Regions from separate parts of the Homo sapiens genome. Here regions 2, 3, 4, 5, 6 and 7 are each linked to region 1. Evidence: promoter capture Hi-C in 16 types of primary human blood cells and fetal thymus (Javierre and others, 2016). All regions are on one chromosome and are shown on one strand. The core of a region is centred on a gene start or on the middle of the fragment in contact, and the rest is flanking DNA. Distances in the headings are between cores, read along the strand shown. Region 1 holds the start of RBM4B (RNA binding motif protein 4B). Region 2 has its middle 5.2 kb from the start of PELI3. Region 3 overlaps BBS1 (Bardet-Biedl syndrome 1). Region 4 overlaps PC (pyruvate carboxylase). Region 5 overlaps DPP3 (dipeptidyl peptidase 3). Region 6 overlaps TOP6BL (TOP6B like initiator of meiotic double strand breaks). Region 7 holds the start of BBS1 (Bardet-Biedl syndrome 1).

The links. The method cuts DNA at HindIII sites, captures the fragments that hold promoters and counts their contacts. A CHiCAGO score of 5 or more calls a contact.
Region 2: a contact is called between a fragment that was not itself captured here and the fragment with the promoter of RBM4B in region 1, in 7 of 17 cell types (M2 macrophages, naive B cells, erythroblasts and 4 more). The highest score is 9.8, in M2 macrophages.
Region 3: a contact is called between a fragment that was not itself captured here and the fragment with the promoter of RBM4B in region 1, in 1 of 17 cell types (endothelial precursors). The highest score is 5.9, in endothelial precursors.
Region 4: a fragment that was not itself captured here is called in contact with the fragment with the promoter of RBM4B in region 1 in 2 of 17 cell types (megakaryocytes and endothelial precursors); the score reaches 5.6 in megakaryocytes.
Region 5: a fragment that was not itself captured here is called in contact with the fragment with the promoter of RBM4B in region 1 in 14 of 17 cell types (M2 macrophages, M1 macrophages, naive B cells and 11 more); the score reaches 23.8 in M2 macrophages.
Region 6: a contact is called between a fragment that was not itself captured here and the fragment with the promoter of RBM4B in region 1, in 3 of 17 cell types (endothelial precursors, M0 macrophages and M2 macrophages). The highest score is 6.5, in endothelial precursors.
Region 7: the fragment with the promoter of BBS1 here is called in contact with the fragment with the promoter of RBM4B in region 1 in 16 of 17 cell types (M2 macrophages, M1 macrophages, M0 macrophages and 13 more); the score reaches 17.5 in M2 macrophages.

The regions. Positions count from the first base shown.
Region 1 is chr11:66,675,842-66,679,470 of GRCh38, forward strand. It overlaps RBM4B (RNA binding motif protein 4B), which reads right to left and starts at 2,046. Exons shown (of 4, transcript NM_031492.4): 1 at 1,923-2,046; 2 at 827-1,250. The coding sequence starts at 1,238. RefSeq lists silencers at 1,659-1,768, 1,969-2,248. The HindIII fragment of the contact is 1,797 bases long and covers 1,060-2,856 here.
Region 2 is chr11:66,459,932-66,463,387 of GRCh38, forward strand. No RefSeq gene overlaps it. Among named protein-coding and RNA genes, the nearest start is that of PELI3, 5.2 kb to the right of the region's middle. The HindIII fragment of the contact is 5,660 bases long and covers 1-3,456 here.
Region 3 is chr11:66,526,832-66,529,531 of GRCh38, forward strand. The region is part of intron 13 of BBS1 (Bardet-Biedl syndrome 1); the gene reads left to right. It also overlaps a transcript of ZDHHC24 not described here. Among named protein-coding and RNA genes, the nearest start is that of BBS1, 18 kb to the left of the region's middle. The HindIII fragment of the contact is 529 bases long and covers 987-1,515 here.
Region 4 is chr11:66,882,418-66,885,549 of GRCh38, forward strand. The region is part of intron 3 of PC (pyruvate carboxylase); the gene reads right to left. Among named protein-coding and RNA genes, the nearest start is that of LRFN4, 27 kb to the left of the region's middle. RefSeq lists enhancers at 1-296, 297-1,034. The HindIII fragment of the contact is 6,228 bases long and covers 1-3,132 here.
Region 5 is chr11:66,485,937-66,489,487 of GRCh38, forward strand. DPP3 (dipeptidyl peptidase 3) reads left to right here. Exons shown (of 18, transcript NM_130443.4): 4 at 604-741; 5 at 1,332-1,406; 6 at 1,978-2,071. Among named protein-coding and RNA genes, the nearest start is that of DPP3, 7.3 kb to the left of the region's middle. The HindIII fragment of the contact is 8,189 bases long and covers 1-3,551 here.
Region 6 is chr11:66,819,305-66,822,442 of GRCh38, forward strand. TOP6BL (TOP6B like initiator of meiotic double strand breaks) reads left to right here. Exons shown (of 15, transcript NM_001302084.2): 10 at 2,339-2,460. Among named protein-coding and RNA genes, the nearest start is that of RCE1, 23 kb to the right of the region's middle. The HindIII fragment of the contact is 3,144 bases long and covers 1-2,958 here.
Region 7 is chr11:66,508,767-66,512,087 of GRCh38, forward strand. It overlaps BBS1 (Bardet-Biedl syndrome 1), which reads left to right and starts at 1,869. Exons shown (of 17, transcript NM_024649.5): 1 at 1,869-1,940; 2 at 2,247-2,323; 3 at 2,439-2,473. The coding sequence starts at 1,894. DPP3 (dipeptidyl peptidase 3) reads left to right here. Exons shown (of 18, transcript NM_130443.4): 18 at 313-891. The coding sequence ends at 485. RefSeq lists an enhancer at 1,731-1,780. The HindIII fragment of the contact is 5,944 bases long and covers 1,793-3,321 here.

The sequences.
Region 1 (3,629 bases), core at 796-3,295:
AATTTTATCTAATCTGTTAATTTCAATTTACTAAGCCGCATGTGGTTACCATATTAGCACAGTTCTAGAGTCTTCTGACAACCTCTTGTGGTATTAATGACAACATATGTACCTTTATTATCGGTATAAATAGTATGATATGCTCTACGATGCTTGTACTGAAATTTCTTCAGAAGCGGGACCATCATTCCCATTGAGTCTGATATATTTAGAAATTTCCTTTTCTGAGGGTGAAATGAACAGGTGGAGCAGAACACTCCATGGCATGTTTTTTTGACTCTGCTTGAAGAGACTGCACAACTTTGATCAACAAAAAGATACTCCCGCAGATCCAGACTTGCCACCCAGATTTATAATATAGGGCTTCCTCTAGATGTCTTTTTTCTTCTTTCCCACCAGTATCCACCCAAAGCAGTAAAGAATATAAATCTTAAGCACTTAAACCCTCAAATATAAGGCTTCCTGATCATCACCAAAGAAGCAGGTAAGCCACGGACCTTTATCCTCCCTTCTCTCATGAGGTACTCGTTTCCCCAAGCAGATTACACTTCCAACAGCACTCGAATCAATGCAAGAATCCCGCAGGGTAAAGTAACCCACAGTTTGTGATTCTATGCAGTCGGTGAGCAACATCTTAGCAAACCTGAAAAGGGGAAGTGTTTGCTTCCCCAGGGGTAAATTATGCTTAAGAGCGGTAAACATAATCTATTATTTCCAGCTAAAACAGAATGGAAGAGACCACCCAGCAAGTTCTATAGTCTTGTGTTCTTGCCTGTTTTGAGCTAGACCCCACTCGGCGCTACTACCCAGGCCCAGAGCAGTTCACCTTGAAACTCTGTGTTGTCAAGGCCCCTGATGGCCTCCACTGCATCCTCTGCCCGCTCCATGTGTACGAAGGCATAATCTTTCACGATGTCACATTCGATGACCGGACCATACTCCTCAAACTTGGCTCGAAGCTCTTGGTTGGTACAAGTGGGGCTGATGTTACCCACGTGTAACTTGGTTGAAGCTTTGCTCTTATTCTTGCTGGCTTCCACGTTGATGTTCACCCCATGAAGCTTGTAATGGTGCAGGTTGCGTATGGCATCCTCAGCTGCCGTCTTGTCTTCTATGTGCACAAAGCCGTAATTCTTAATGATGTCACATTCCAGCACCTTCCCATACTGCTCGAAGAGTGAGCGAATCTCCTGCTCTGTAGCCTCCCGGGGAAGGTTTCCGATGAACAGCTTCACCATCCTGACAAGAGCCTGGGAGAGAAACACAAGACTTCAAAAGTCAGGGGTGTGGTGGGAAATTTCGGTGCACTGCAGCATTTTCGTCTAATCCTCCAAAGTTCTTGCACCTTCAAGACCCTCGTACAGACATTCATTATTCTTCCTCAATAGAAGAAGGGCGGTTTGTTCTCGAGAAGTGCGAGCTATGCGTGACATGCAAACAGGAGGTCGAGGGTCAGCATGCATAGCCCAGTCTATCATCTCCGTGAAGTGGAGCGCAATGAAATACCAGAATTAGCTGCTTCATGTCTTAAAATGAGGGAAGAGAAAAGCCCAAGCAAAGGCAAGGGGCATCAATCGCAGTGCGCCTGGTAACAAGGTTTTGGAGGGAAATCTGTGTACCTCTCCTGCGCGCACTAGCGCCTTTCAAGATACTCTAAAAAGAAAAAAGTCCCCTTTCCCCCAAACCGGGGACCAACCACCTCGCCCCCAGCGGCCCACCCTCCAGCTTCTTCGCCCCAACAAAGACTCGACCCGACCCCTGCCCCGCCTCCTTCCGGAGACCCGGCCCCGCCTCCTCCCGTTGTCTTCCCAGACCTCCCGCTGCAAAATGAGAAACCCAAATCCGGGCCGTGCAGTCTGCCGGAGGCCCGGCCCGACCCGCCCCCGAGCTCCCCACATCACACACACACGACCCCCTCGCACCTCCGGGTGGCGGCAGCGACGGCGGCTCCCACGTCAGAGAGAACCTTACAAAATGGCGACGGCCGCTCGAGCCTGGACGCGACCGGGCCCTTTCTCGCGCGCCAGCTCACGCACGCGCGAGTGCGCGCTGCTTCCCTCCCCTTCCCCTCGCGGGAGCCGAGTGACCAATCCCGAGGCTGCATACAAATGACCACGCAGCACGGGGGCGGGGCCTGTTGGTGGTGGCGCGGCGCCGCGGAGGTCAGCCCACCCCCAGCCCCAGCCAGCCAGTCACCACCCTGGAAAGGGTCGCCACTGCTGCGTCAGAGGGGCTCTGAACGCAACCACTGCCTAGAAAAGCGGAGGCCTTGGGGAGTCGCTCACCACAATGGGTCCTGCTCTTGGGCCCTTTGAGGGGGGCGGGGAGCTAATGACAGAGGAATCTCCCCGAGGGCCCTAAAAAGGGGCTTTTGTAGCGGGCTGGCCGGCTTCTGTGGCAGCTTGGGGCAACATTTCAAAAATACAGGTGCGCCACATTTTAAGCAAAACTAGTCATTGTTTTGTAGCGCTTTAAACATTATTTTAAAGTTTGTCATTGCAGAGGTGTTATTTATTGCTACGGAAACTGAGAACCAAGGGGCAGAAAGATAACCTGGCAGAACTGGGACAGGCCTAAGAGGCATTGCTACCCAGGCTACGCTTAGTCATGTTTTGTTTGCTCGTGAGTATCCGTGGTCTGATTCTCTCTCACTCATTGTGTGTCCATCACAGTCCTGGTCTGTGGTGAGCACGCCAGAGGAATACTTGGTGGAGAGGCCCAGCGAGGTCCCTAGTTCTGGGTGGGACAGGGTCTCCTCGTACACACCAAGCTGGAAGTCTAGGCAACTGAGTTTCCCGACTGTCTAGCATTCAAAATTCAGCTGTGGTCCAAGGGCACCTCCTGGCGGTAAAAACAAGCTTAGGCGTGCCAGGTGCGGCGGCTCACGCCTATAATCCCAGCACTTTGGGAGGCCAAGGCGGGCGGATCACGAGTTCAGGAGTTCGACACCAGCTTGGCCAACATGGTGAAACCCCGTGTCTACTAAAAATACAAAAAATAGCCCGGCGTGGTGGCGGGCGCCTGTAATCCCAACTACTCGGGAGGCTGAGGCAGGAGAATCGTTGGAACCCGGGAGGCGGAGGTTGCAGTGAGCCGAGATGGCGTCACTGCACTCCAGCCTGGGTGACAGAGCAAGACTCGGTCTCAAAAAAAAAAAAAAAAGAAGTTTAGGCTGATTCCCCACTGTCACCTTCCAGCAAAGAGTAGCCTTTTATGGAGATTGATGGATTGGGTTTATCTCCTAGTAGAGCCCGCCAGGGAGGTTGTCAGCCACCATTCCTCATTTTAGTGGCTCCATAATGGCTTCTCTGATACCATCTGGGACACATTCCCCAGGCTGCCCTCTTCCACCCCAGCTACTTGGATATGTTCTTTACCTGAGTTCTTTTTGTTTCTCAGCCATTTCAGAAGAGGCACTGTCCTTCCAATTTTATTTTATTTTTATTTTTTGTTTAATTTTTTAAAGACAGAGTCTCACTGTGTCGCCCAGGCTGGAGGGCAGTGGTGCGATCTCGGCTTACTGCAACCTCCACCTCCTGCGTTCAAGCCATTTTCCTGCCTCAGCCTCCCGAGTAGCTGGGACTACAGGCGTGCGCTACCCCCCAGCTAATTTTTGTATTTTTAGTAGA
Region 2 (3,456 bases), core at 840-3,339, 220 kb before region 1:
AAAACATAAAAATAAAAATTAGCCAGGCACAGTGGCATGCTCCTGTGGTCCCAGCTAATCAGGAGGCTGAGGTAGGATGATTGCTTGATCCCAAGAGTTTGAGGCTACAGCGAGCCATGACCATGCCACTGCACTCCAGCCTGGGCGACAGAGCCAGCCAAAAAAAAAAAAAAAAGATTTAATGCCAGGAGTGAGGACAATAAAAAATACCTAAAAATGTGGGAGTAGTGAGCAGAGGCTAGAAAGACTTTAAGTATAGTGTTAGCAAAAGTCTGAAAGCCTTTGTATTAGTCATCCACTGCTGTATACCAATATACCACAAACATAGCAGCTTAAAACAACACACATTTATTACTTCAGTTTCTGTGGGATCAGGAGTCCAGGCATGGCTACGCAGAGTCCTCAGCATAGGGTGTCACATGACTTCAATCAAGGAGTCTGCTAGGGCTGTGGTCTCATCTGAGACTCAACTGGGGAAGAATCCTCTTTTTTTTTTTTTTGAGACAAAGTCTCACTCTGTCGCCCAGGCTGGAGTGCAGTGGCGCTATCTCGGCTCACTGCAAGCTCCACCTCCTGGGTTCACACCATTCTCCTGCCTCAGCCTCCCGAGTAGCTGGGACTACAGGTACCCGCCACCACACCCGGCTAATTTTTTTGTATTTGTAGTAGAGACGGGGTTTCACTGTGTTTCACTTTCACTCCCAAAGTGCTGGGATTACAGGCGTCAGCCACCGTGCCCAGCCAAAAAAAAAAAAAAAAGATTTAATGCCAGGAGTGAGGACAATAAAAAATACCTAAAAATGTGGGAGTAGTGAGCAGAGGCTAGAAAGACTTTAAGTATAGTGTTAGCAAAAGTCTGAAAGCCTTTGTATTAGTCATCCACTGCTGTATACCAATATACCACAAACATAGCAGCTTAAAACAACACACATTTATTACTTCAGTTTCTGTGGGATCAGGAGTCCAGGCATGGCTACGCAGAGTCCTCAGCATAGGGTGTCACATGACTTCAATCAAGGAGTCTGCTAGGGCTGTGGTCTCATCTGAGACTCAACTGGGGAAGAATCCTCTTTTTTTTTTTTTTGAGACAAAGTCTCACTCTGTTGCCCAGGCTGGAGGGCAGTGGCACGATCTCGGCTCACTGCAACCTCCACCTCCTGGGTTCAAGCAATTCGCCTGCCTCAGCCTCCCTAGTGGCTGGGATTACAGGAGTGCACCACTACACCTGTCTAATTTTTGTATTTTTAGTAGAGATGGGGTTTCACCATTTTGGCCAGGTTGGTCTTGAACTCCTGACCTCGGGTGATCCATACACCTCAGCCTCCCAAAGTGTTGGGATTACAGGTGTGAGCCACCACGCCCAGCCCAGAATCACTTTTGTTGGCAGATTCAATTGCAGCTCCAGGACTGAGGTTTTTTTTTTGTTTTTTTTTTTTTCCTTCTGCTGGCTGCTGGCTGCAAACCATTCTCAGCTCTTAGAGATCACTCTTGGTCCCTGATACATGGGCCTCCCCATATGGGAAGTGCACAAAATGGCAGCTTGCTTTTCTAAAGCCAGCAAGGAGTGAGAGAGACCCCAGCAAGACAGGTGCTACAAACTTATATAACATAATAACATCACTATGTGCATGTAATCAGGCACAACCCATCACCTTTGCCATATACTGTTGGTTAGAAGAAAGTCATAGGTCCTGCCCACCCACATTCAAGGGAAGGGGTTGACATAAAGGTGTGAATACCAGGAGTGAGGGATCATGGGACTACTTTAAGAAGACTGATGGCCTTAGAGAAGGCTGATAGTGAAAGCTGAAAGGAAAGTGGGAAAATATTATTGGATCTCAAGGGAAGGAGATCCTTGTTGTATAGTGGCAGGTAATTTAGCAACATTGTCATCCTTCATAATGTGTAGATTGGTATGGTAGCTCCTACCTGCAATCTCGACAACTCAGAAGGCTGAGGCTGGAGGATCACTAGGAGTTTCAGAACGGCCTGGGCAACATAGCTAGACTCTATCTCTAAAAAAATGTTTTTAAATAGAAATAAACTAAGCTGGGCATGGTAGCATGTGCCTGTAGTCCCAGATACTGCAGAGGCTGAAGCAGGAGGATTGCTTGAGCTCAGGAGCTCAAGGCTGCAAGTAATGCACCATTGCACTTCAGCCTGGGCAACAGAACAAGACTCTGACAAAAGGCAAGGAAAGAAAAGGAAGGGAGGGGAAGGGAAGGGAAGAAAGAAGAAAAAGGTAGAAGATGTGCCTAATGAAATATGTGATCTAGCTAAGGAGATTTCCAGGCAAAATGTTACAGGTAGTACCTTATTTCTTCTTCCTGCTTAGAGTAAAACATGAGAGTTGAGAGGCAAGTTATAAACTGACAGGAGCTCTGTTAAACCAAAAATAGTTAGAATTTGATGATTTTGAAAATTCCCAGCCTCAGCCAGGTGCAATGGCTCATGCCTGTAATCCCAGCATTTTGGGAGGCTGTGCAGGTGGATCACCTGAGGTCAGGGCTTCAAGACCAGCCTGACCAACAAGGTGAAACCCCATCTCTACTAAAAATACAAAATTAGCCAGGAGTGGTGATGCATGCCTATAATCTCAGCTACTTGGGAGGCTGAGGCAGGAGAATCACTTGAACCCAGGAGGTGGAGGTTGCAGTGAGCCGACATCACACCATTATACTCCAGCCTGGGCAACAAGAGCAAAACTTCGTCTCAAAAACAAACAAACAAACAAACAAAGAAGAAGAAGAAAATTCCCAGCCTCTCCAGCCAAAAACAATGCTAAAATTAAGAAATGGCTTCTGGAAAAAGATCACATCAGAAAAACATGGTATAAAGTTGAAGCCAAGAGGCCAACAGTATGCCTGTAAATTCCCTAAGACTTCAGGTCTAAGGCAATAGAACCATTCAAACAATAAGGGCTTCTAGAAACGTTAAAGGATTTGTCTATCAGCATGAGCCCAAGGTAGGGGGGCTTATCTCAAAGAGATTTGTGGGCATAGTCTAATGAAGTGAATAAGGTCCATAGAAATCTACAAAGTTTTTAAGAGAATTGTATTGGCAGAAACACTGACAACTTGGACTGTAAAGGACAGAGACAACAGAAATGGAAAAGAGGCATTCGAACCCTCAAACTTCTATAGACAGGATGCAGGCCAAGAAAATTACTCAGCTGCAAACACAGACTACCTTTTATGGAAAATGAAAGATGACTCAGGAAGTAGAACTAAGAGACCAAGAGCCATGGATTATTATTCTCAGGCCTTGCTTCAAGGGCTTTCCTCTAAAGCTAGAGACCGAGAACTGAAGCCCAGGTCGCCTCTGCTCTGGATCCCCAAATCCATGTGAGGGATCTGTCTTTTCCCAACCCCACCCTCCCCGTCTGGCATGGCCTCAAGGGCAGAACCTAGCATCTTAGCTCTTCCTTCTCCTCTCCAAATCTCCCAGCCCAGAAAG
Region 3 (2,700 bases), core at 1-2,500, 150 kb before region 1:
CCTTCTTCCTCCTCCACTGCTCCTACACAGCAAAGCTGGGGGAATGCTGCCCAGCCTCCCTGTGCACTGGGAGGAGATCTCGGCCAACTAGGTAGGTCACTCACCTCTGCAAATCCAGGGACAGCCTAGGAGGTACACGTTGCCTGCAAATCACTGTTCCTCAGGCTGGAAGGTGCTGTGGGTGACAGCAAGAGCCCTTAGAATTCAGGGAAGGGAGCAGTCACTTCCAAACGCAGGAATTCTCATGAGGAAAGTAGAATTTTGACTGGGCATGGTGGCTCACGCCTGTAATCCCAACACTTTGGCAGAGGTGGGAGGACAGCATGAGCCCAGGAGTTCAAGACCTACCTGGGTAACATAATGATACTTCTTTCTCAAAAAAAAAAAAAGAGAGAGAGAGAAAGAGAAAAGTAGAATTTGACCAGTGTCATCTTGTCCAGTTTTTCCTGCCCGTTTATTTGTTCATTCATTCATCGTTCGTTCATTCATTCATTCAGTACCTATGATTACACCAGGCCTTGTGCCAGGTGCCTTTAATTAGAATAGTCCCTACCTTGGGCCAGGTGCAGTGGCTCACGCCTGTAATCCCACCACTTTGGGAGGCGGAGATGGGCAGATCATGAGGTCAGGAGTTCAAGACCAGCCTGGCCAATATGGTGAAACCCTGTCTCTACTAAAAATACAAACATTAGCCAGGCGTGTTGGCATGCACCTGTAGTCCCAGCTACTTGGGAGGCTGAGGCAGAAGAATCGCTTAAACCCAGGAGGCGGAGGTTGCAGTGAGCCAAGATCATGCCACTGCACTCCAGCCTTGGTGACAGAGCGAGACTCCGTCTCAAAAAAAAAAAAAAAAAAAAAAAGAATAAATAATAGTCCCTACCTTAGGAACTCAGTCTACCTGGGGCCAACTTCATGATCATGTGTAGAAGGGGTTTCTGCAAAGAGCTTTTGGAGCACACAGAGGGAGTAAGGACTTCTGCCTGGGAAGCTTGGGAAAGGCTTCAGAGCGAGGTGACTTTGGGCTTCACCCTAAAAGATGATAGCCAGACCCCCAGACAGGGCAGGGCAGGGTAATATAGGCAGAGGCACAGGGTGTTGACCTGGATTCAAGAAAGCAGGCCCGGTTCGGTGGCTCATGCCTATAATCCCAGCTCTTTGGGAGGCCGAGGCAGGCAGATCACCTGAGGTCAGGAGTTCGTGACCAGCCTGGCCAACATGGTGAAACCCCCTTGCTACTAAAAATACAAAATTAGCTGGGCATGGTGGCACACGCCTGTAATCTCCTTAGGCAGGAGAATCACTTGAACCTAGGAGGCAAAGGTTGCAGTGAACCAAGATCACGCCACTGCACTCCAGCCTGGGTGACAAGAGCCAGACTCCGTCTCAAAGAAAAAGAAAATGTACAAAGTCTAATAAAGTTGTAAAACTATCTTCAAGAACAGAAAAGACCACCTTCAAGAATGCTTAAGTGGAGAGAGTTACCAAGTTGCAGGATGGGAAGACCTAATGCTGTAAAGCTTGAAGTTGCAGTTAAAATCCCAGTGGGGTTTGTTTTAAGGACCTGGCCAGTTGATTCAAAGAGTAAACCTAAGAAGATTGGGGAAAATAAGAATGAGGGGACTTACCCTATCAGGTAGCAAAATGAACTCAAGCTGTGGGAATCAGAAGCTGTGGTGTGGATGCAGAAATAGAATGGAGATCAGGGCAGGATTAGGAAGTCCAGAAACTGACCCTGAACATGTGGAAAGTCAGAGTGTGTGAAAGGTGTCATTTTGAATTGGCAGGGAGATGTGAGACTGTCCAAAAACACACAATCAGGACAACTTGCTTCTAGAAAAGAAAATTAGACCTTTTCGGCCAGGTGCGGTGGCTCACACCTGTAATCCCAGCACTTTGGGAGGCCGAGGTGGGCAGATCACCTGAGGTCAGGAGTTCGAGACCAGCCTGACCAACATGGTGAAACCCCGTCTCTACTAAATACAAAAAATTAGCCAGGCTTGGCGGCGCGTGCCTGTAATTCCAGCTACTCGGGAGGCTGAGGCAGGAGAATCGATTGAACCCGGGAGGCAGAGGTTGCAGTGAGCTGAGATCACGCCATTGCACTCCAGCCTGGGTAACAAGAGTGAAACTCTGTCTCAAAAAAAAAAAAAAAAAAAAAGGAAGAAAATCAGACCTTTTCTTCATACCAGCCACAAAAATTAATTCTGGATAGATTAAAAATAAATTGTAAAAGTACTAGAGAAAAAGCACATAAAATGTGAAACTCTTGAATGGCAGAAGCCACTTCACACATAAACGGAAGAGCGAAGCCAGCCTGGGGGACCGAGGTGCCCAGTCTGGAAGAGGAGGGACAGTGGGGTGGGGGCGGGGTGGGCCCTGGAGGTGGCTTGGGGAAGAGTCATGTGATCCTGCAAACGGTGAGATGTGAGGGGTGGACCTAGGTGACTTGATGGACAGGGAGGCAGTGACGGAGGCAGGACCATGAGGCTGGTTTCCGCAGCATTGAGCCTGAGGTGTTGATGGGACCTCCCTGTGGAGATGAGCAGGAGGCAGGCGAGGGTGCTCACTAAGCTGCTGGAGACACATGCACAATATCGAGCGTGGACACCAAGGACTCCTCTTTGTGGTGGTCAGAGCTGTGGCAGGACATGGATTGTCTGGGGGAAGAAGATGGAGGATGAGAAGAGGACCATGGACCAG
Region 4 (3,132 bases), core at 330-2,829, 210 kb after region 1:
ACCAGGCCCTGCTTCAGGGGCGGGTGGCCAGCAAGTTGGTTCTGAAAGCCCAGCAGAGCACCTGGGTCCCTCAGCAAATCCTCAGAGGTGTGCTGGAGAGCAGCAGAGGGCAGAGAAGAAAGAAGTGTGGTTCAGAAACAGGCCCCAGGAACCTCCGAACCAACAAAGCTCCACACACCTACTTCCTATGGGCCCAGCTGCCCCCAGCACCAGCACCCGCACCAGGCTGTGCCCCTAGCCCCAGCTGGGCTCCACAGCTGCCAGTGAAAGCAGGTCAGAACCAGAAAGAAAGAGCTCTTGGCAGAGCACTCGGGGCTGCGGCGGTGGCAGCTCTGACGGATGGGGCCGCTCTCCCCAGGCGGCTCTGCTCTAAACATGTCCGACGGGCCCCAGGGCTGGCAGCCAAGAGGGACAGATGAAAGAACGACTCCACCTGGCTCTCAGGGCTGCCACGGCTGATATCAAAGCACCCAAGAGAGGACAGACTGAGGCTGAGATTTCTGGGCAGGGGGGGCAGAAGGGAGGACGCTGGAAACAATGCAGGTGACAGACACAGAAGACAGGAGAGAGACAATACCAAAGACGGAAACAGACACAGCACGGGTGCTCGCCGAGGCTCAGCTGTCCGGGCTCTGGGCCCCCAGGAGCGCCGGCTGCTCCAAGTGGCACTGCGGCGACGAACAGCAGTGAACAGTGCCAGCAGGGCTCCTCATCGCCCTGGCAACCCTCTATTCAAAGGAGCAGCCGAGGGGGAAAGGGTGGCACCGAGGCGACTGGCGCCATGGTCTCGGGACTTGTGGACTGGGGGACAAAGGGGGTCTCAGAGAAAGCAGAGTGAGGGGTCCCGAGGGCCTGCAGTGAGGTGGCTGCTCCATCCCAGCCTCACTGGAAAGCAGTGAGAATTTCAGGGCCAACACTGCCCCCTGGCGCACGAGGAGCCAGCTTCCTGCCGACCCTGCAGCACGGGGTGTGGGCAGGGCTCACATGGGAAGGTCACTTGTCCCCATTCCTCCACATCCTATAGGAGTAGGCTCAGGAATGCCTTCCCTATATTCCCCGGGCAGCCACCTCCCTCAGCTCTGTCCTTGTCTGTGCCCCACCCATCGTCCTGCTCAGGGGGCTCTCCATGAGGTCTCCGTGGCGTCTGTGTCCTCAGCAAAGAGCATTTAATGTTATAAAGATTTGTTGACCCGTCTTGTCTCCTTTAATAGACACTGTTAGGGCCCTGGGCACAGGATCCCTGGTCTCTTTTGTCCCCACATCTCCCTGGCACTCTGTACAGTGCGTAAGACCAGAACTAAATAAATGTCTGAGGGAATGAATCAGTGAAGAAATACTTCAGGTCACAATGAGGTTGCAGAGTGGCATGAGGCTGTTAAGATTCACCGTGAGGCGTGGTGGCTCATGCTTGTAATCTCAGCACTTTAAGAGGCCGAGGCAGGGGTATCACTTGAGTCTAGGAGTTTGAGATCAGCTTGGGCAACATATTGAGATCCTGTCTCTGCCAAAAAATTAAAAAAAAAACTTTTTAAAATTAGCTGGGTGTGGCCTGGCACGTGGCTCACACTTGTAATCCCAGCACTTTGGGAGGCTGAAGCGGGTGGATCACCTAAGGTTGGGAGTTCAAGACCAGCCTGACCAACATGCAGAAACCCCATCTCTACTAAAAATACAAAATTAGCCGGGCATGGTGGCACACGCCTGTAATCCCAGCTACTTGGGAGGCTGAGGCAGGAAAATCGCTTGAACGTGGGAGGCAGAGGTTGCGGTGGGCTGAGATCGTGCTATTGCACTCCAGCCTGGGCAACAAGAGCAAAACTCCATCTCAAAAAAAAAAAAAAAAAATTAGCTGGGCATGGTGGTGCCCATAGATAGTCTCAGCTGCTTGGAAGCCTGAGGCAGAAGGATTGCTTGAACCTAGAAGGTTGAAGCTGCAGTGAGCCATGATGGTCCCAGTGCACTCCAGCCTGGGCAACAGAGCAAGACTCTGTCTCAAAAAATAATTAATCAATTAGTTAAAAAAAAAGATTTACCTAGAAATATTATGGAGCATTCAGATAAAGATTAGTAAGGCTTGGCCCCTCCTGGGAACAGCACACACACACTAGTGGGACACACAAATGTCCCATACATATTGATTAGAGCCCAAAGTGATGTTGACAGGACAGAGAGAGGGTCTGAAGGACAAGGTCAGCAAAAAGCACCTCCCAGACTAATGCAGAGCGTGCCTGTGCCCCCCACACCCATATGTTGAAACCTTGATCTTGGACTTCCAGCCTCCATAACTGTGAGAAATAAATGTCTGTTGTTTAAAAGCCACCCAGCCTGTGGTATTTTGTCACTAAAGCCCAAAAGGACTCAGACGCAGCCTGGCAATGGGAACCAGGGAAGCTGAGTTTCAGGGCTGCGAGGGGCGACAGAGGCTAGGGGCACCAAAGACTCAATTCTAAACAGAACTGGACAATCTTTGCAGGGAGGAAGATGCCAGGACCCAGCAGACACTTGCAGGTGGCCCAGGACATTTCCCGACCCTCTTCAGGCCACCCCACCCCTGCTGGAGAGCTTCACAGGACCTGCTCCCCACTCAATTCCCCTCGTTCCAAGATGACAGGACATGAATGCTGGCTGGATTAGAGAGGGCCTCCCAGAGGCCTTGGGGACTTCGGGACCTGTCAAGCTCAGGACAAGCGGGTGTCACCCGGTGTTAGAGGTTGAATTGTGTCCCCCACCAAAAAAGATACACTGAAGTCCTAACCCCTAGCACCTAGGTCAGAATGTGACCTTATTTGGGCCAGGCGCGATGGCTCACGCCTGTAATCCCAGCACTTTCGGAGGCTGAAGTGGGCTGATCACCTGAGGTCAGGAGTTCAAGACTAGCCTGGCCAACAAGGCGAAACCCATCTCTACCAAAAAATACAAAAAATTAGCCAGGTGTGGTGGTGGCTGCCTATAATCCCAGCTACTCGGGAAGCTGAGACAGGAGAATTTGCTTGAACCCGGGAGGCAGAGGTTGCAGTGAGCCGAGATGGCGCCATTGCACTCCAGCCTGGGCAACAGTGAGACTCTGTCTAAAAAAAAAAAAAAAAAAAAGTGACCTTATTTGGAAATAGGGTAATCAAGTAAAAATAAAGT
Region 5 (3,551 bases), core at 645-3,144, 190 kb before region 1:
CTTTTCTTTTCTTTTCTTTTTTTGAGATAGGGTCTCACTCTGTCACTCAGGCTGGAGGGTAGTGGCACGGACACAGCTCACTGCAACCTCAACTTCCTAGGCTCAGGTGATCCTCCTCAGCTTCCAGAGTAGCTGGTACCACAGATGCCTGTCACCATGACACCTGGCTAATTTTTAAAAATTTTTTGTAGAGACAGAATCCCACTGTGTTACCCAAGCTGGTCTTGAACTCCTGGGCTCAAGCAATCCTCATGCTTTGGCCTCCCCAAATGCTAGGATTACAGGCATGAGCCACTGCGTCTGGCCTAATTTTTTTTATTCTTTGTAGAGATGGGGTCTCTCTGTGTTGCCCAGGCTTGTCTTGAACTCCTGGCCTCAAGCATCTCTCCCTCCTCTGCCTCCCAAAGTGCTGGGATTATAGGTGTGAGCCACCACACATGGACGCTTGACATTTCTCAGGACCTACAAGTGCTGCTGGTCCATGGACCACACAATGAGCCAGAGCTCTTAGATCATAGGAGAAGAGCTTGGGAGTGGGTAGGGAGGCTCTGGAAGGCAGGTTTGGGTGGTGTGACTGGGCCATTGGCCTCCCTTTCCTTGCAGGAAAAGCTGGAACGGGTGATCCTAGGGAGTGAGGCTGCTCAGCAGCACCCAGAAGAAGTCAGGGGCCTCTGGCAGACCTGCGGGGAGCTTATGTTCTCTCTGGAGCCAAGGCTTCGACACCTCGGACTGGGGAAGGAGGTGAGGCCCCTGACTCCCCCGAGGGGACAGGGAGTGGAGGGAATCCTTCAAGGCCACCTGGTAAGGAGGGAAGGACACGGGATGGGGAGGCAGTGGGCTCTGCCTCACACTCCTGAGGCAATGCTGCTCCCCACTGCAGGCCTCAGTTTTGTCATCTGTAGAATGGTAAGCATGTTGGGTCGAATGCTTTCTGAATGCCCTCCCAGATCTGACATTCTGTACACAGGATGCCATGTGCTGATGGAGGGAAGGAGAGGAAGGCTGGAGGTGGAGGGAGCTGAGGAGGGGATGGCAGGGAAGGAGGGGGGTCCCAGGTTTCCCACCTCTGGAGGCCACATCCGTTGCATGGGATGAGGACCTTGGCAAGCCTTAGGGGTGGGCCAGCCAGAGAGAGGCCTGGGCAGAGCTGCAGCAACACTGGAGATGAGCATGTTTGTTTGTTTTATAACTTTTTCCCCTGGAGGTAGATGGAGGGGTAAGGGGTAGAGGCTGCTGAAAGGAGGGAGGGGCGGGAAGCCTGGGAATATGACGTCCCTGCAGCCCTGACCTTGGCAACTCCTCTTTCTCATGTCCCCTGTCTTCCCCAACAGGGAATCACCACCTATTTCTCTGGGAATTGTACCATGGAAGATGCCAAATTGGCCCAGGACTTTCTGGACTCACAGGTTTGGGGTTAGGGGAGCTCAAGGTAGCAGAGGTTTGGTGGGGTTCCTAGTCCCAGCCCCCTCACAACTGGTGACCACTCCTGGGTCTCTGCTTGACTACTCCCTGTGTACTAGGGAAGGCGCGACCCCTGCCCACCCCAGGCTATAGAGCCTAATGACAGCCTCAGGGCAGGGCGAGGAACCAGGACCTCAGGCCACAGGGGTGTGAGGCTCCGGGGTCCATGTGTCAGTGGTGCTCCCAGCTCAGCCACTCACCAGCCATGTGATCAGTTTCCATGTCTGTGAAGTGGTACCCACCTCCAGTAGCCCTGGGTTCGCAGAGGCCGTGCAGTGCCTGGCACAGTGGTTGCAGTCAGTGCTTAGTAGAAGTGCACAGTGTCCTGAGCAGAGCAGGAGAGTCGGCCCTGGGCTGCCCACTCCCACTCTCTCCCACTCCTGCTCCCAGCCAACCCAGAAGGCCCAGCCTGCTTTGCCTCCATGCCTTCTCCCCTAGGGTTGACCCATTTTCCTTCCTCCCACCCCACTGCCCTCTCCAGACTTCACTCTTAACCCCTGTCCTGGTCTCTTCTAGAACCTCAGTGCCTACAACACCCGGCTCTTCAAAGAGGTCGATGGAGAAGGGAAGCCCTACTACGAGGTGCGGCTGGCTTCTGTGCTTGGCTCAGGTGAGCTTAGCCCCAGGCTTCCCTTCTGCTCCCTCCTGGGCATTTCCGGACCTGGGTGGCTCAGGTCCTACCAACTCTGCCACTCCTTCAGAAAGAGCATCCTTCTCTCCCAGGATTTTCTACATAAGTCCTGGGAATGGCTCTAGTTTCTCTAAATCAGTCCCCTATTTGTCTGTGAACCAATCCCTGAGGGCTGGCAAGGGACAGGTCTCTGATTGGCTCAACCTGGTCTCAAGCCTACCCTGGAGTCAGGCGATGAGGTTGGCCCTTCAGGCCGGGCATGGCAGCTCACACCTGTAATCCCAGCACTTTGGGAGGCAAAGGTGGGCGAATCACCTAAGGTCAGGAGTTCGAGACCAGCCTGGCCAACATGGTGAAACCCCATCTCTACTAAAAATACAGAAATTAGCCGGGCGTGGTGGCGTGTGCCTGTAATTCCAGCTACTTGGGAGACTGAGGCAGGAGAATCGCTTAAACCTGGAAGGGAGAGGTTGCAGTGAGCCGAGATCTTACCACTGCACTCCAACCTGGGTGACAGAGCGAAGCTCCAGATCAAGGAAAAAAAAAAAAAAAAAAAGAGGCTGGCCCTTCCCAAACCACCTGCACTTGGGGTAGTAGTAGTGGGGCCTGGGGTGGTATTCTCAAGGGGAAATTGGGGTCCATTCCCAGGAGAGAGGAAATAGTATGGACAGAAGTGTCCAGGCCTTTATGAAGACCTTTGCCACCTGGCTCTTTGTTCCCCACTCGCACCCCAGCCCCTGCTTCATCTCCACATCCTCCCACTCAGACTCTGTGCTCTGGCCATGCTCAACAGCATCCAGTTCTGATGGACCCTCTCTAGGTCTTTTTGTTTTTGTTTTTTGAGACAGAGTCTTGCTGTATCGCCCAGGCTGGAGTGCCCAGGCTAGAGTGCAGTGGTGCGACCTTGGTTCACCGCAACCTCTGCCTCCCGGGTTCAAGCAATTCTCCTGCCTCAGCCTCCCCAGTAGCTGGGATTGCAGGTGCCCATCACCATACCTGGCTAATTTTTGTATTTTTAGTAGAGATGAGATTTCGCCATTTGGCCAGGCTGGTCCTGAACTCCTGACCTCAGGTGATCCGCGTGCCTCTCGGCCTCCCAGTGTGCTGGATTATAGGCGTGAGCCACCGCGCCTGGCCCCTGTCCAGGTCTTTGCACAATCCATTCCCTGCTTCTCATGCGGAACCCCCTCCAGCCTCTCCTTGTCCCCTGGCCACCTCCTCCCCATCCTCTAGGCCATGCATGGACTTGCCTTCCCCAGGACCTTTCCCTATCTTCCCATAACTGAGTCTGTGCCCTTCTTTCTTCCCATCGGCACATTCAGTAGCTTCCCTGACTACAAGCTCCCCGAGAGGAGGGCCTGTGTGTTTCATCCACTGTTGTCTCCCTGGTGCCTAGCGCTTGGTGGATCCGAGCATCCACTGGGGAGATGATGGCAGATGTGGGTTCAGAGGAACAGGA
Region 6 (3,138 bases), core at 137-2,636, 140 kb after region 1:
GGTGGTCAAAAGTTTTAGGAATGAACTTTGACTTTTAAATTAAATGTCTGCTTTCAAAAGAGATCTGATTTCTTGAAGCTGTTCTTAAAACCAAACTATGGAAAATACCAATCTAGATGATACATTAACATAGCAATAGCAATATTTTGAAACTGTACAGTGTACATTTCAAAACACTTCATGGGCTAGGCACTGTGGCTTGGCTCCTGTAATCCCAATACTTTGAGGGGCCAAAGCAGGAGGACCGCTTGAGCCCAAGAGTTCAAGACCAGCTCGGGCAACACAGCGAGACCTCGTCTCTACATATACAAATTTGCCCGGGCATGGTCCCTCACACCTGTAATCCCAGCACTTTGGGAGGCCGAGGCGGGCGGATCACACTGAGGTCAGGAGTTTGAGACCAGTCTGGCCAACATGGCGAAACCCCGTCTCTACTAAAAATACAAAAATTAGCTGGGTGTGGTGGCAGGCGCCTGTAATCCCAGCTACTCGGGAGGCTGAGGCAAGATAATCACTTGAATCCAGGAGGCGGAGGTTGCAGTGAGCCGAGATCACGCCATTGCACTCCAGCTCGGGCAACAAGAGCAAAACTCTTGTCTTAAAAAAAAAAAAAAAAAAAAAATTGGCCAGGCATGGTGGTGGTGTACACCTGTGGTCCCAGCTATTCGGGAGGCTGAGGTGGGAGGATCACTTGAGCCCCGGTGGTCGAGGCTGCAGTGAGCCAAGATCGTGTCACTGCACTCCAGGCTGGGCAACAAAACCCACAAAACACTTTGTGTACATTATCGCAGTTTATCTACACAACATACCTGTGAGAGCAGGTGGTATAAAGCCATTTTCTATACTGAAGAAAAGATTTCATCACCACTAGTTGATGGCAGAATTGGCCCTAGAATCTATGTTCTCCCTGACTCCAGCTCCAGAATCCTTTTGAGCTTACCATATATTACGTTCCCTACCAGGAAAGGATCATGGTGCCTTGTGGTAGAAAATGTTCTTCTGGTTTGCATTTTTAATACAGTCCTGGAAAAAGCCAGCCAGTTTTAGGCTGCTTCCCATAGAATTCTGAACACTGAAAACAAAGAATAATCAAGAAGGATTTTCTCCAGGTGACCTGTAAATTTGGCTTCCTGTGCCTGCTGCATCGGGATCATTAAATGGTGGCCTATTGTTTGATGGCATAGTTTTTTTGCCTGTTGCTCTCACATATTAGCTTTTCTGAATGAGACTGAGCAGTGGTGCCTGTGGTTACTTTAACAGAGATAATCTCCCATTTAAAAGGACCTCATACCAACAGTTCTGTGTCATCTCTGTGAATTTTAACCTTTTCTTTACCACAGTACGTCTGAAAGCACTGCCACAACAGTGATGTTCACATAGACGTAGAGTAGGGTTAGACACACTCTATAGGACCTTTGCTTCTCCCTTTCTCCTCTCCTTTGGGAGTCACTGGGATTGTTGTTTATAGTACATGGTATATATTTCTGCTATGAATTAAACAGGATCCCTTATTTGTTTCTTTAAAAAATAATGTCATTCTCCACCTTAATTTTCCTGAGCTTTCTTAGATTTATGAGTGGGAATTAGGTAGGTGTGTAAGTTGCTGGGAGATTTTGTCTAAAAAAAGGTAATTATTTGTGGATATGTAGGGGTCTCTTCTTCCAAGAGGCATCTTTCCCACTCCCAGTCCTGACTCAAAGCACATGAACAGCAATCTTGAAGTAGTTATCCTCGCTCATGGTTAATCCTTGGATAATGCAAGCCTGATACCATGTTCTGAGCCCTACTGAACATTTCTAAAGAACTCGGATTCCTCAGAAACCAGTGTTATCATTCCTGAACTACTGTGATAATTTGTACACCTCTGTTTAGCTTGATTCTGAGGGCCTGCAGTATCTCAGTCGTTGTACTCAGTATTGGATTTAAAAGAAATTCATCAGTGTATTAGTAAACAAGTGTCTTAAATCTTACACATCTGGTAATTTTTTTTTTTTTTTTTTTGAGACGGAGTCTCACTCTGTCACCCAGGCTGGAGCGCAGTGGCACAATCTTGGCTCACTGCAAGCTCCGCCTCCCGGGTTCACGCCATTCTCCTGCCTCAGCCTCCCGAGTAGCTGGGACTACAGGTGCCCGCCACCGTGCTTGGCTAATTTTTTGTATTTTTAGTGGAGACGGGGTTTCACCGTGGTCTCGATCTCCTGACCTCGTGATCCGCCCGCCTCGGCCTCCCAAAGTGCTGGGATTACAGGCCACATCTGGTAATTTAAGACTAGCTTTTGCAGATGCACAGTGAGGGGAGGTAGATATAGTGATAATTTTACCTTCTCCCTCCCCTTAGGAGTCTATACTTTGCTCACAACTCATCTCAATGCCATCCTTGTGGAGAGCCACAGTGTAGTGCAAGGTTCCATCCAATTCACTGTGGACAAGGTCTTGGAGCAACATCACCAGGCTGCCAAGGTAATAAGGAATTCACAGCCTCTTTTCTCCTATTCTCTAAGAAAAAGATAGCAAGCATATATGGCAGGCAGGGCCCAGGAGCCCTTCCTCCCTTAATGCCCCTTCCTCTCCTCTTCTGTCACCTGGGTGATCTTGTAACACTGCATCTAGCCTACAACTCAAACTTTAGCTTAGATGGATCACTGTAACCAGCTTGCTTAGTCTTACCTCCTAGTAGGTGTGTTTGGGTAAATAGGGAAATAGTTAATAGGGAAAAATGGCTGATAACACACCTCTTCCTTATGCATATAATTCCCCTTCCCACACAGACTTCTGGAGCTGCTGTTTCGCTGTGTCTTACATTCTTCCCCCATTTTCCTAATTCTTTACACCACCACTTTCTCTCCTTACCTGATTTTCTACATCCATCCATCCTGTGTACTTTTGGTAACACATTTCTTACCTCATATGGCCCCCTTTTCAGGGAAAAAACAACCACACTAAGAGAGCAGAACTAAAAGCTTTTTTTTTTTTTCCCAAATAGTGTGTCTGTTTTCTTGATCATTGTCCTATTGCTTGTCTTCTCTGATGTGTCTGTGTCAGTAAGTCACCTCTGTGAAATGCAAGAACATTTTAAAATTTTATTTTAATTCCCTAAGTGTTATGATGTAAAAATATGTGAGGATCTCAGTAACTTTT
Region 7 (3,321 bases), core at 619-3,118, 170 kb before region 1:
CTCCCACCTCAGCCTACCAAGGTGCTAGGATTACAGGCATGAGCCACCATGCCCAGCCTAAATCTTTATTTGATTGACTGAATGAACGAAAGCAGCAATGCATTTAATACTCCCCCTGTAGTATTTCCTTCCTCACAGGGTTACTGTAAAGAGTAAATTAAGTAATTAACCTAAAACGTAGAGCACAGGTTTTTTTGGCAGAGCTCAGTAAGAAACAGCTGCTGCTGTAATTGTGATTATTAAGATTTTTATGATGATTCAGTTTCCCTATTCAGACCTTTCCCTGCTGTTTTCTCTCCATCTCCTCCCCAGGCTCAGACGTGCAGCTTCTGGAATACGAGGCGTCAGCTGCTGGCCTCATCCGATCCTTCTCTGAGCGTTTCCCAGAGGATGGACCCGAGTTGGAGGAGATCCTCACACAGCTGGCCACAGCCGATGCCCGATTCTGGAAGGGCCCCAGTGAGGCCCCATCTGGCCAAGCTTGAGGAAGATGTGTGGCCTTGCCCCCAATTCCATCAGACCAAGGCTGCAAGTGGCCCTCCATTCGTGTGTGTATTTAGGGGCTGGGGAGGGGGAGGGGCAGGAGCTTGGACCTTGGTACTACCTCAGCTGAGGGTGGTGACACAACCCCTTCCATTTGTCAGCACTTTCCAGCCTGCCAATTGCTTCCCCTCTGTGATCTCATTTCATCTGCACTGCCATACGTGGAGTGAGCAAGACAGGGCTTACCATCCTGTCTACCAGATGAGGAAATGGCAGTTCTGAGAAGTCACTGGTCTAGATCCCGCAGGTGGCACGTGACAGCTAGGGTTCAAAACGTTCTCACCAAATCCAATGCTCCTCACATATTAATTTTATAACCAGACAAATAAATATTAGAGACAACCACCATCTTTGCGGCGTGTGTGGCTCCTCCTTGCCTTTGCCTGTCTTCTCATTTACTCCCAGCAGAGTGATGGGCTCAAGGCCTGGGGAGGGGGCAAGGAGGGCCATTTTTAGCCTCCCTTCCACAACAGGATGTTGACATTATCTCTAGATGAGGATACGCAGTCACAGAGCTGAACATAGCACAATTTTTGCAGCTCTCCTTTGTGGCATTCCTTGCATTTTTAAATGTTCTGGGGCCGGGCACGGTGGCTCATGCCTGTAATCCCAGCACTTTGGGAGGCCGAGGCGAGGGGATCACGAGGTCAGGAGTTCGAGACCGGCTTGGCCAATATGGTGAAACCTCGTCTCTACTAAAAAATAAAGTAGCTGGGCATGGTGGCATGCGCCTGTAATCCCAGCTACTCGGGAGGCTGAGGCAGGAGAATCCCTGGAACCCGGGAGGCGGAGGTTGCGGTGAGCCGAAATCGCGCTACTGCGCTCCAGCGCAAGCGACAGAGCGAGACTACGTCTCAAAAAAAAAAAAAAAAAAAAAAAGTTCTGGGAACCTACAAACTCAACTTCAGTCAGAATCCTCTGCATTTGTCCCATAACCCTCGTGTTTTGTTTCTCTGGGCCTGGACCTCTACAGTAACGCAGCAAGGCAGGACATGGTCCTTTTCAACCGGGTAACCATGAAGATGGAGACAGGAGGAGTTCTTTTTGCTGCTCATAAATGCTAGAAGGGGCTTCTTTCCAACCCTGGAAGCCAGAGGGCTCTGTGGCTGACCCAGAGATTGTAGGACCCAGACGCCTGGAAAGGTGGCTCTGACTGGGAAGGAGCAAAGATAAATATCTTTGAGGAATCTGAGACAGATTCCTCAACCCAGGAAGGTGGCCAGCGCGTCCTCCTGAGCCTGGGTGGGAAAGCTTGGCGCCCGGAACCTTTGTACTCGCCCTTCCCTGTGCTCGGGCACTATTGGGCGTTACGCGAGGGCGGGGCCGGTTGCCAGGACGACGCCTGCGAAGATGGCCGCTGCGTCCTCATCGGATTCCGACGCCTGCGGAGCTGAGAGGTGAAGGCAGGGCTCCTCAAGGCCTCTTTTCCCACCCGTGTAAAGAGGGTCCCTTGGTCCCCGGGCTCTGGGCTCCTGCTGTTCTCGGGCAGTCTGGAAGGACTCTTAAGAGGTCAGATAGGGAAACCGAGGCCTAAGATGTGCATATGTGTGTCTGGAGGTCGCTCGGTGAGCCAGTGGCGGAGCCTGGACTTGTACCCAGACGTTCTGTACCTTATGTTCAGAGTGACCTGTACCAGCTTCCTCAAAGTTTTTTTTTCCCCTCCCATGGGACTCACTCCCCAACTGTCTTTCCCCCACTTCCAGCAATGAGGCCAATTCGAAGTGGTTGGATGCGCACTACGACCCAATGGCCAATATCCACACCTTTTCTGCCTGCCTAGGTGAGTCTCTGGAACCAGGAACCCTGGGTTCTAGTGGGATGGGGAGTCAGACAATGGTCCTGTAGTGAAGCCTCTGGGATTCTGAGACTCTGGTTTTGGCCCTTTTGTTTTCCAGCGCTGGCAGATTTACATGGGGATGGGGAATACAAGGTAAGCATATCACCCTAGCCAGGAGAGTTGAGGGTAGGGGGGTGTACCCAGAAATGAGATTTCCTGACGGCTGAAAATAGGCCCAGCATACTCTGGAATTCACATATACTGTGAAAAAGCACATTTAGCGTTAAATTTTGTTTTTATATGGAAAGTGAAGAGAACTTATTGATTTCATAATACAGACTGCAGAAAGTAAAGCAGATCAAATATTTCTGGGGATTCTACTAAGACAAAGCCTCTTAGTTAACCTGATTTCTTTGTTGGAAGGGCAAATCCCTTGGTTGGGGGTGGGCACTAGAATCTGGAGGGAAAGTAAAAAGGAGGGAAGTGAACGTTTGATGTTTATCAAAAGATTTTAAGATGGGCCATGAGCTGTCAATTTTTGAAGCTGGATAATGGGATATATGGGGACTCATTATATGAGTCTCTCTACTTTTGTATGTGAATGAAAATTTTCCATAGTAAAAATGTTACATTTTAAATTTAATTTTAAGGCCAGCAATCCCAGCACTTTGGGAGGCTGAGGTGGGTGGATCGCTTGAGCTTAGGCATTCGAGACCAGCCTGTCCAACATGGTGAAACACCATCTCTACTAAAAATACAAAAATTAGCCGGGCATGGTGATGGGCACCTGTAATCCCAGCTACTTGGGAGGCTGAGGCAGGAGAATTGGTCAAACCCAGGAGGCGGAGGTTGAGTGAGCTGAGACCATGCCACTACACTCCAGCCTGGATGACAGAGTGAGACAGTTTCAAAAAAAAATATATATATATATATGTGTATATATATGTATATATATGTATATATATGTGTATATATATGTATATATATATACATATATTTAA